Linked DNA regions of Homo sapiens: region 2 is linked to region 1. The links are contacts of gene promoters, found by promoter capture Hi-C in human tissues and cell types (Jung and others, 2019). All regions are on one chromosome and are shown on one strand. The core of a region is centred on a gene start or on the middle of the fragment in contact, and the rest is flanking DNA. Distances in the headings are between cores, read along the strand shown.

What was found. Contacts are between HindIII fragments. The study calls those that stand out against the background at their distance.
Region 2: a fragment that was not itself captured here is called in contact with the fragment with the promoter of SLC18A2 in region 1 in 1 of the 25 tissues and cell types used here (bladder).

The regions. Positions count from the first base shown.
Region 1 is chr10:117,238,319-117,243,123 of GRCh38, reverse strand. SLC18A2 (solute carrier family 18 member A2) reads right to left here and starts at 2,010. Exons shown (of 16, transcript NM_003054.6): 1 at 1,904-2,010; 2 at 1,310-1,445. The coding sequence starts at 1,430. SLC18A2-AS1 (SLC18A2 antisense RNA 1) reads left to right here and starts at 1,127. Exons shown (of 3, transcript NR_184310.1): 1 at 1,127-1,239; 2 at 1,341-1,463; 3 at 2,943-4,359. The HindIII fragment of the contact is 16,283 bases long and covers 1-4,805 here.
Region 2 is chr10:118,300,609-118,305,413 of GRCh38, reverse strand. FAM204A (family with sequence similarity 204 member A) reads left to right here. Exons shown (of 9, transcript NM_022063.3): 9 at 1-4,805. Among named protein-coding and RNA genes, the nearest start is that of FAM204A, 39 kb to the left of the region's middle. The HindIII fragment of the contact is 4,902 bases long and covers 119-4,805 here.

The DNA.
Region 1 (4,805 bases), core at 761-3,260:
TCTATTATGAGTGGGAATCTGTAATTTTTCCTACAACTTGTAAGATTTAAGAATTCCTAAGGCTTTCACAAGGAAAAAGCAAAACTGAAACAGGCCAGGCACGGTGGCTCAGGCCTGTAATCCCAGCATTTTGGGAGGTCGAGGCGGGTAGATCACCTGAGGTCAGGAGTTCAAGACCAGCCTGGCCAACATGGCAAAATCCTGTCTCTAATAAAAATACAAAAATTAGCCAGCTTTGGTGGGGCATGCCGGTAACCCAGCTACTCGGGAGGCTAATGCAGGAGAATCACTTGAACCCGGGAGGTGGAGGTTGCAGTGAGCCAAGACTGTGCCACTGCCCTCCAGCCTGGGCAACAGAGTGAGACTCCATTTCAAAAAAACAAACAAAAACCAAAATAAAAAGCAACAACAAAAAATACAAATTAAATTGTGAAACATATAATCGAAGCTGTGAGCACATGTGTCCAATGGAGCATTCGAGCCGAAGCAGAACTAATGCCGTTGGTACTGAACAGGGATGAGCTCCACGGCTCTGATAACTCCTCGAGATGAAACCTATCAGATGCTCTGAAAACTGCTGTGAGAAAACCTGCAAATGGAGAGAAAGGAAACAGCTCCCACCACTTACAGTCTAAATGAGTCGTGATTTTTTTTTCATTCATTAAAAACTGGGATTTTTTTTTTTAAGGAAATGCATGCCAAATACTTCTCTGTTAATGGGCCTAATTAAGGGACCTGGATTTCGATTATTTAATTTTTCAAAATTCCACTATAGGAAAAATAATAGAACCAAGATTGTTCAAATTGTTCTTGCAATGGTTCCTGAAATATTTCCATCTCAAGTCATTCACTAATACAGTATATCTAAATGTCTTGTTTTTGGAGTAAGGGATCGAAACTTGCTCTTTTAGGTACTACACCAAATTACTAACCTGCCTTTTCGAGTAGCCCAATAATTATTCTAACACGTAATTTTGAACTTTAGGAATTTCTCTTTTGGAACAGAAATCTTTTTCATCGCAGTGAAAGCAGGCAAGAGGATGCGGGAAATTATCAGGGGGAAACATAAGTTCTGGGTCTTATCGGATGTCACAGTTTTTGACCCGAGCATCAGGAAAGCGAAGCCACACAACGCGGCTCCTCCTAGCCCCGGCGCGGCAGCCTGGAGGGGATGTCTTTTTTGCAAAGCGAGTTCTCCAACTTTCCCGGGCCTTGGCGGAGCTCCGGGACCGCGCAGGGGTAAGTGGAGTGCCGGGGAAGGGGCGCTGGGGCTGGGGTGCCGGGGCAGGGGTGCCCTGTCCGCACGTACCCACGACAGTGAGCAGCATGTTGTCCAGCAGCAGCGCCAGGAACACGATGAACAGGATGAGCTTCCGCGAGCGGCGGCTCTCCTGCAGCCAGCGGACCAGCGCCAGCTCGCTCAGGGCCATGGCTCCGGGGCTCCGCTGCGGGCGCGGTGCGCGGTGAGGACCCAAGGCGGCCGTGGACCCCCCATTCTCCCGTCCCCCAGGCCGCGGAAGGGCGGGTCAGGGAGCCGCGCGCACCGGCATCCGGGGACACCCCCGGGCGCCCCAGCCTCGGCTCACCTGCCTCGAGCGCGTCCCCACGAGAGCCCGCGCTCCCTGGAAAGAGCGCCCGCGAGCGCCGTCGGGGACCCAATCTGGAGACCCAACCTAGAACCCCCAGGACGCTGCCCTGATCCCCGCCGCCCCCAACTGTGCCACCTCCCAAACTGCACGCTCGGCCCCGTGCACCTTGCGCCCTGCGCCCTGCGCCCCGGCTGCCCCGGGGTCCCCGCAGCCCCGCCCGCGTAGCTCTGGGGGCCTCCCTGCCTCCCTGCCTCCCCCGGGCCCGCTCCCCTCCGGCACCGCGCCCTGCGAGCAGGGAACCGGGGCCGTGTTACCTCGGGGTCGCTTGCGATGCCTGCCCGGGTCCTCCGTGCCCGCGCCAACGCCCGCACCGCAGTGGGCTCCGTCAGTCCGGGCGGCTCCGGGTCGCAGTCTCCGCCCCAGCGCCCCGCCGCCGCCGCTCAGTTTACCCCGTCCGGCTCTGACGTCACGGCCGGAGGGAGCGGGGGCGGGGGGCTGGGGCGCCCCGGCCTCCGCCCGCCCGCGCCGTCGCTGCGCAGGAGGGGCTGCCGCCTCCCTGTCCCCGCCTCGGCCGCGGCCGCGCCTCTTCCCCGGACCCAGCGCGTGGCCGAGTGCCTTGGGGACCCAGGCCTGGGGAAGAGGCAGGGGCGCAGAGGGAAAGAGGTCAGAGAGCCTGGACGAAGAGTGAAGGGCCAGGGACCAAGGCGAGGAGGCACGGACCAGGGCTTTCTTGTGGCTCCAAGTGGTGGCTCGAGCTGCTTTGAATAAATCACGTGGCTCTTTGAGCCTCAGTGTCCCTGAAATGGGCCGTGAGGACGGGAATGATGGCCGCGGGGTGAGATCGCCAGGGGTGACAGGTGCTGGGAGCCAGGGACAGGCTTCCCTTTCCTGAAGAAGCCACCCTTTGCACCCACCATCCCCTCCCCTCTCCGACCTCTGCAGCCCGATGCGGGGTGCCACTCGGAGGAGCCTTTGAGCCTTGGGCATCCTCAAGCTGGTGACTTGGAAACGGGGGGGGGAAGGGGACACTTTTCAGTGTCGCCCTATGGTGGGAGTTGGGGAGGTGAGGGTCCCAGGTCTCAGAAAGTGGGAGCAGTGGGTTTGGGCCTCTGGGGCCACCTGAGCAGGGGACCCTGGAGGCTAGGTGAGTACACCTGGCCTCAGAGAAAGGGCTAGGGGGCGGGCTGTGGGCGGGGCAGCAGGCCTAGGCCCTGTGTCCTGTACTCTCTCCCCACCATGCTGTGCCTGGGCGTCTGGGTGAGAGGTGGTTCCTAGAGCCAGGGGCCTGCGTGTGGCTGGTGCAGAGCTGTCATCCTCACTGCTAAGGGCTAAGAGCCTGCCTTTGATTTCCAGGTCCCTTTTATAAGCAAAGGAGAAACAAACAGATGCCCTCTGACATCGCTGGAGCTCTGCAGGCCCTCCGAGGGGACCGTGGGAGCAAGAGCTGTTTTCTTGAAAAGCTACCTAGAATAAATGTTACCCTGTCACAGTCTCTTAGCAGAAGAGTGGGCTTGTTTTATTAATGTTAGCTTGTTGACAGCAGGAGGCCACTGAGAACAGCAGTGTGATGTGTGGCTGCCCCCGCTCTCTCCACCTCCCTACTCCCTTGCAGAGACCCCCTGTGCTTCTCATTGCTACCCCATGTGTGAGAAGAGATGGTTGAATAGGTAAGTAGGTCAGGAACATGGGTCTCCAGGATGTCACAGGATGTGCACAACTTAAACATTAAACAGGGAGGACAGAAGGAAAACCACTTAGGAGGAGGAAGCAGATGGCAGAGAGCCGTTTAAGATGGCAGGAGGGTATCACTCAGGGAGTGCCCCAGAGTGCTTGCTCTGGAGTTTCAGAACCCAAGGATGCAGACTCTACCCCAGGGACCACATGGGGACAGAGAGGCATTATGGTAAAGGGTGCCTGCCAGGATGCCCAGGTCCCAGTCTGCTACTTCCTTGACTGGTGGCCTTGGGCTGGTTATGTATCCTCTTTGTGGCTTAGTTTCGCCATCTCTGGAATGGGGATACTCACTGGACCTACTGCAGCGTGGTTGTGAGAATTCCAGGGGAATGCATAGGCAGCTCTTAGCACAGTGCCTGGCACAAAGTGAGAGCTCCGTAAGTGCCGGCCCCTCATTCATGCGCTGAATATGTGTTGAGCTCTTACTACGTGCCAGGCACTATGGTTAATGCTGGGGAGACAGTAAAGCCTAGACAAATCCCTGCTGACATTCTGACCTGATAGCAGCATCATAGCAGTGAACACTGGAAGCCACACCAAACTCCAGCCCAGCCAGCTGGATGTAGATGGCTCCAGGGACAATGCCAGCCCGGCGTTCCCGCCTCCGGATCACTGTCACCACCCCTAGAGCACTATGGCCTATAACAGACTTTTTGTTGAAACCCCCTAAAAAATGTTTAACAATATGTTTGCCTTACACATTTTCAAGTTGGCATCTAAAATGAGTTTTTTAATCATATATTTAAATAGGGTATATTGTATTTATTGACCTTTATGTATAAAATTATTATCTCTCTCTTTTAAATATACCCAAAGGAATTTGTATAAGAATACAAAACTGCCATGTTATACTTAAGAATATAAACAAGTATCCCTTTAACAGTCAAAATATTTACATTGTGTTCTTTACCCCTTTTAAGTATGTTTCCATTCCGTTTTCCAACAGAATTGTATCCTACCCTAATGCTTTTATTGTTTAAATTCTGTATTCATCACCTATCTATTATGTGAACCACAATAAATATGTGAATATGCATTAGCTTTTTAAAATTTTCTACACGTGGACATAAAGATGGCAACAACAGACCCTGGTGGGGACTACTAAAGGGGAAAGGGAGGGAGGGGGGAAAAGGTTGAAAAACTAACTCTTGGGTACTATGCTCACTACCAGGGGGACAGGATCAGTCATACCCCACACCTCAACATCACTCAATATACCAGTGTAACAACCCTGCACATGTACCCCCTGAATCCAAAACAAAAGTTGAAAGTATAAAAAAAAGTTTAGGCACAGTGACTCATGCCTGTAATCCCAGCATTTTGGTAGGCTGAGGTGGGAGGATCTCTTGAGGCCAGGAGTTTGAGACCAGCCTGGGCAAGATAGTGAGACCCTCTACAAAAAAGTTTAAAATTTAGTTGAGCATCGTGGTACACACGTGGGGTCCCAGTTACTTGGAAGGCTGGGGTGGGAGGATCACTTGA
Region 2 (4,805 bases), core at 1,320-3,819, 1.1 Mb before region 1:
CAGGAATGAATGCAAATGTTTGTTCTGCACATTACTCAGTGATTTTAAGCTTAAAGTTTTCTTAGACTGCATTAACGTGTCCTTTATTTTAGCTTGGGTGGGCCACAGTACCTTCCCATGTTAGGGTAATGCTTCCTACTACTACAAATATGCCCCCCAAAATATAATGACTCAAGCACAATACAAGCTTATTTCTTGTTCATGAGACAAAGGAGAATGTTGCTTGCTATCAACGAGGGCTCTGTTCCGGGCTGTCATTCAGAGACCCAGGCTGACAGCGACTCACCGCCTTCTTTCCCTAGTAATCCTGGATGTCCCCTCGATGCCAGTCAGCTGGAAGGGAAAAGAGCATGGAAGAGCACTGGCGGGAAGTTACGGGCCTGGCCTGGAAGTGGAACACATTAGTTCTCACTTTGCACTGGCTCAGACTTCCTTACTTCATCACACTAACCACAAGGGAAGCTGGAAAATATAGACTGGGAGGAAAGAAATTTTAGTAAATAGCTTGCAGTATCTGCCACATTGCCTCAATCACATACGATGTAGTAACTTTACATTTTGCTGATGTTGAGTAGCACAAACTACTATTTGTGATTTGATGGAGTCATTTTTACTTGGGTGTGTTGACAGAGCTGAGTCAAAGTAGCTGTTCATATTACCGTGTAGTGGGTGTGGTGTCACAGTGTGATACCTGCTGAAAGAGCATTGCATGCTCAGTCAGTGAGGCAAAGGCAGTGCTTATTATGCCATAAAGGGCTGTTGGGACTTTACCAGGTAGGCGAGTAGAAGCGAGTGCATCCTAGGTAGAAGGAACGGCGTGGCACATTTGAGGTACAGCAAGGACTTTAGCAGGGGCCAGGGGAGAGAATGAGAACAGGGAAGTAGAGCAGCAGAAAGAGATGGCGTTGAAAAGAGCTGGCCAGAACCAACTCACACACAACTTTGAGAGATGCTGGGGAGATTGGACTTGTGCGGGGAAGAGTTGGGTGTCTATGGATGGTGATGTGGGATGAAGAAGGTAGTCAGAGAGCAGGCTTTTAAAGAGTAATGTTATATTAGTAGTTTAGTAATATAGAGTTAGACATTTAGTATTTAGTAAAGTAGGTCATATTTATACTTGTTGTGTCATGGTACCTGTGGAATGCCATGGAAATGTCAAATGGACACTTCTATGTAGCAACCTGGAGGTCAGAAGGGAGGGAGGTTGCAGAAATAGGTCGATGAAAGAGGTCTTGAAAGGTGGCATGTCAACAGGAACAAATGCCGCTGAGCTGTCAGGCAAGATAATGGTGGAGAGGTGGCTGTTGGAGTTAGCATCAGATGGCACCGGTGATCTTGGCCAAATCAGACATCCAGACCAGAATTGCAATAGATGGTGCAATTGCAATCTTAGGTTGGATTTCCTAGAAACAGTGCCTCAGATCTCTTGTGGAGGTGATTTGTAAAAGTATGCACTTCAGGAAACATTTGTAAGGGAGGGAGCAAAGCCCATGAGGAAGGGGAATGCCTGAAAGGGGTAAAGCCTTGGCCTTGTGCTGGGGGAAGAGGGCTCTGTGAACTCTGCTTGTGGCAAAGGAGCTGTTTTTTTTCTTTTTTTCTTTTTGAGACGGAGTCTTGCTCTGTCGCCAGGCTAGAGTGCAGTGGTGTCATCTCAGCTCACTTCAACCTCTGCTTCCCAGGTTCAAGCAATTCTCCTGCCTCAGCCTCCCGAGTAGGTGGAACTACAGGCATGCACCACCACGCCCAGCTAATTTTTGTATTTTTAGTAGAGACAGGGTTTCACTATGTTGGCCAAGGTGGTCTCAATCTCTTGACCTTGTGATCCGCCCACCTCAGCCTCCCAAAGTGCTGGGATTACAGGCATGAGCCACCGCGCCCGGCTGGAGCTGGCTTTTAAACCCGGTATCAGTCTCAGTCAGTCAGTCACTGCAGGCCAGCATTTTACATGGGATGAAAGGAGGGATGGATGGAAGGGGTGGAGGATACATACCTGGTCCTTCCAGTTAAACTATTTAATAAATAATCATGACTGAGAATATAAGCCTTAGAAGTACTGTTATTGTTCTGTAAATTTTTTAAAAACACTTTGAGGATTCATTGTTATTTATGCTCCTTGCCTTGGAGGGACATCTTGGTTCTACATATGTATAAATGTCTAGCAGATTGAAAATCTGAAATTCTTCTTTCATTACTCTTCCCATACAGTGCTCTTGCACTATTCCTCTAAGAAAGCCAAAGACACATTATACTTGTTTTTTAGATGAGGAAATCAAGGTGCTGGGAAGTTTAAGAGAACTCTACAGCCATTCATCTAGCATAAAAGGGCTGACGTTAGAACGCAGGCCAGGCCTTTGCCTCTTCCCTACCCCATTCCAGTGGTTCTTGAAGTGGGATCCATGCCCTCCTGCAAGCAGAATCACTTGTTAAAAATGTAAACTCCAGGGTCCCTCTCTGGGGGCAGGGCCTGGGATTCCACATTTTCAAAAGCTCCTCTGTAATTAGTGCATACAAAGAAGACTCATTGTCTTGGAGCAGCACCCGCTTCTTACACGGGGAGTCTGGGATGGGAAAGAGGAAAGCAAGTCAGTGCAACTTGCACATGTCTTATCACAAACCATAGGGAAGGAGGTGCCTTGTGGTATAAATACTGAGTTTAATGCCATTAATATAAACGCTCATATTCCCAAACAGACTGCCTGTACTAGTACATTACTTCCATTTTCCAAAAAAGGAAAAGAAAGGTTCCGTGTCAAAGAACTCAATTGGAATCCTCGCTTGGTACTTGCTTCCTTGCCAGCAGTGCTCAAAAAGAGAAAAAGAAAATCCAAAGTCCATGTACATAAAAGTTCCATTCCCGATGGTGGAGGGCTTAATTAAAGTCCTCAGATGTTTCTGTGCACCTTGGAAAACATTTTTATGAAATTCATATATTACCAGAAGTGGCTCCAACAATTCTTGCAGTTAAAAACCTTGTAACTCATGCAGCTCCATCAGGAGCAAGCTGCCTTTTTCAAGATTTGTTTTGCTGCTTCCTTTACCTCCGTAGCCTGTGGCAGTGACGGCTGCTCAAGGGCCTTAACTGCCAGGATGGCACTAGAGGATTTTCCAAGGTTAAGGTCAGATAACAGAATCTGGAAGAAATGGATCCCTCTTCCTGCATTTCCTTTTCTCATTATTTCAATAAATGCATTGAAGGCTTGTGATGTGTCTGGCACTACAGCAGGCACTGAGGATGCCACGCTGAACAAAGCGGCTGGATCTTCATGGGGCTCATATCCTAGAGGGAAAGACATAATAAGCAGACTCTGCAGTGTCACACAACATCACCTAGGAAATATAGAGATGCAAGTGCTCAGGCGCCAGGCCAGACGTGAATTCAACTGTGGTAGCAAGACCTTGTATCTTCTGATGGGACGTTGAAGTGTGAGAACCACTGGACTCTCATATGGTGATAAACTTTGGAGAAAAAGGACGGAGGCAGGTGTGTTGCTGATGCCAGCAAATGTTAGAATAGTGAAACTGCTACACCCTGGACTATGAAGCAAGCCAGATTTGAATCCCAGCTCTGCTACTTACAAGCTGTGTAACCTCCGGCAGGCTACTTAATCTCTCTGTACCTTGGGTTCTCCTGAGAAATGGAGATAATAATAGTAGCTATCTTATAGAGATGTGAGGATTAAAGGAACTAATGAATATGAAAGTGCTGAGAATAGATTCTCACATATAGCAAACAATATACTTGTTGGGAGACAATTCTCTGGACAATTCTTGCATTTCTACACGTCTTGGAAGCAAGGCACTAAGTACCCTTTTGTTCCAAACTATCTTTGCAAGGATGTTTGTATATAACATCCTTGGAAGATTGAGATAGTGTCTCACTCTAGAGCAAAGAACAGACATGCTTACTCCCATTACAAAAGATTCGGTTTCCTAACTCAGAGTTCCTGTTCTTGAATGAAAGTCATGCAGTATACAGGTGTCTTTTGGCCCTCTTAACTGTCATACTGTAGGAATCAATGCAAAAATGCTGATGGCTATTTCTGTTGTGAGTAAATGTCTGAACTGAGAGTCTAGTGTCTTCTATCAGCATTTGTAAAACTGGCCAACTGACTTGCTAAGTTGCAAGTAGGGTGAAATCTCAGACCCTTCGTAGTCCTTGACAATTCTGTGAAAGTGTGTAAGTGTTTGTTAGTACTAATGTTGTTATTACTCCACAGTACGTGCCAATTTTCTGGAAGAAACAAAAATGTAATTGATGGCCCTAGCCTTCAAAGAGTTCCCAGTTGAGCCAAGGAGGTTAAATATGCGAAGATGACGCAAAAGACATACAGCAGCAGGAAAGCAAAGCTTTGGAATGAAACTTGGGTTTGAATGTAGGCTGTGGATGCTCACCAGCTATGGCAACTCTGAGCCTCAACAAATTTCTATTTGTAAAGTGCTGTTGTTAATAATGCTTACTGTGTGAGGTTGTGAACATTAAGATAGTGCATGGAGAGAGCTTAGCACGGGTCTGGCATGCAGTAAGCACTCAGTTACCATTACTGATGTTGCTGTATTGCATTTGTGCTTAGGATACAAGCAGAGCACTTTCTCTCCCCTCCCTGGGTCTTTAGGGAAGTAAGGCCCCAGTACTGTACTTCCTTTCAGGTGGAAGCTGCTTTCCTTGGAACCACCAAACCCCAACTCAGTATGTCCCTGGATTCTGCCCAAAGAATTCCCCAGGGCTAAGCTCCTATAGGTGGGTGGCTAAAGGACTGGCTTCAGAGTCAGACAGCTCTCAGTGGATATATACTTAGAGATTTAAT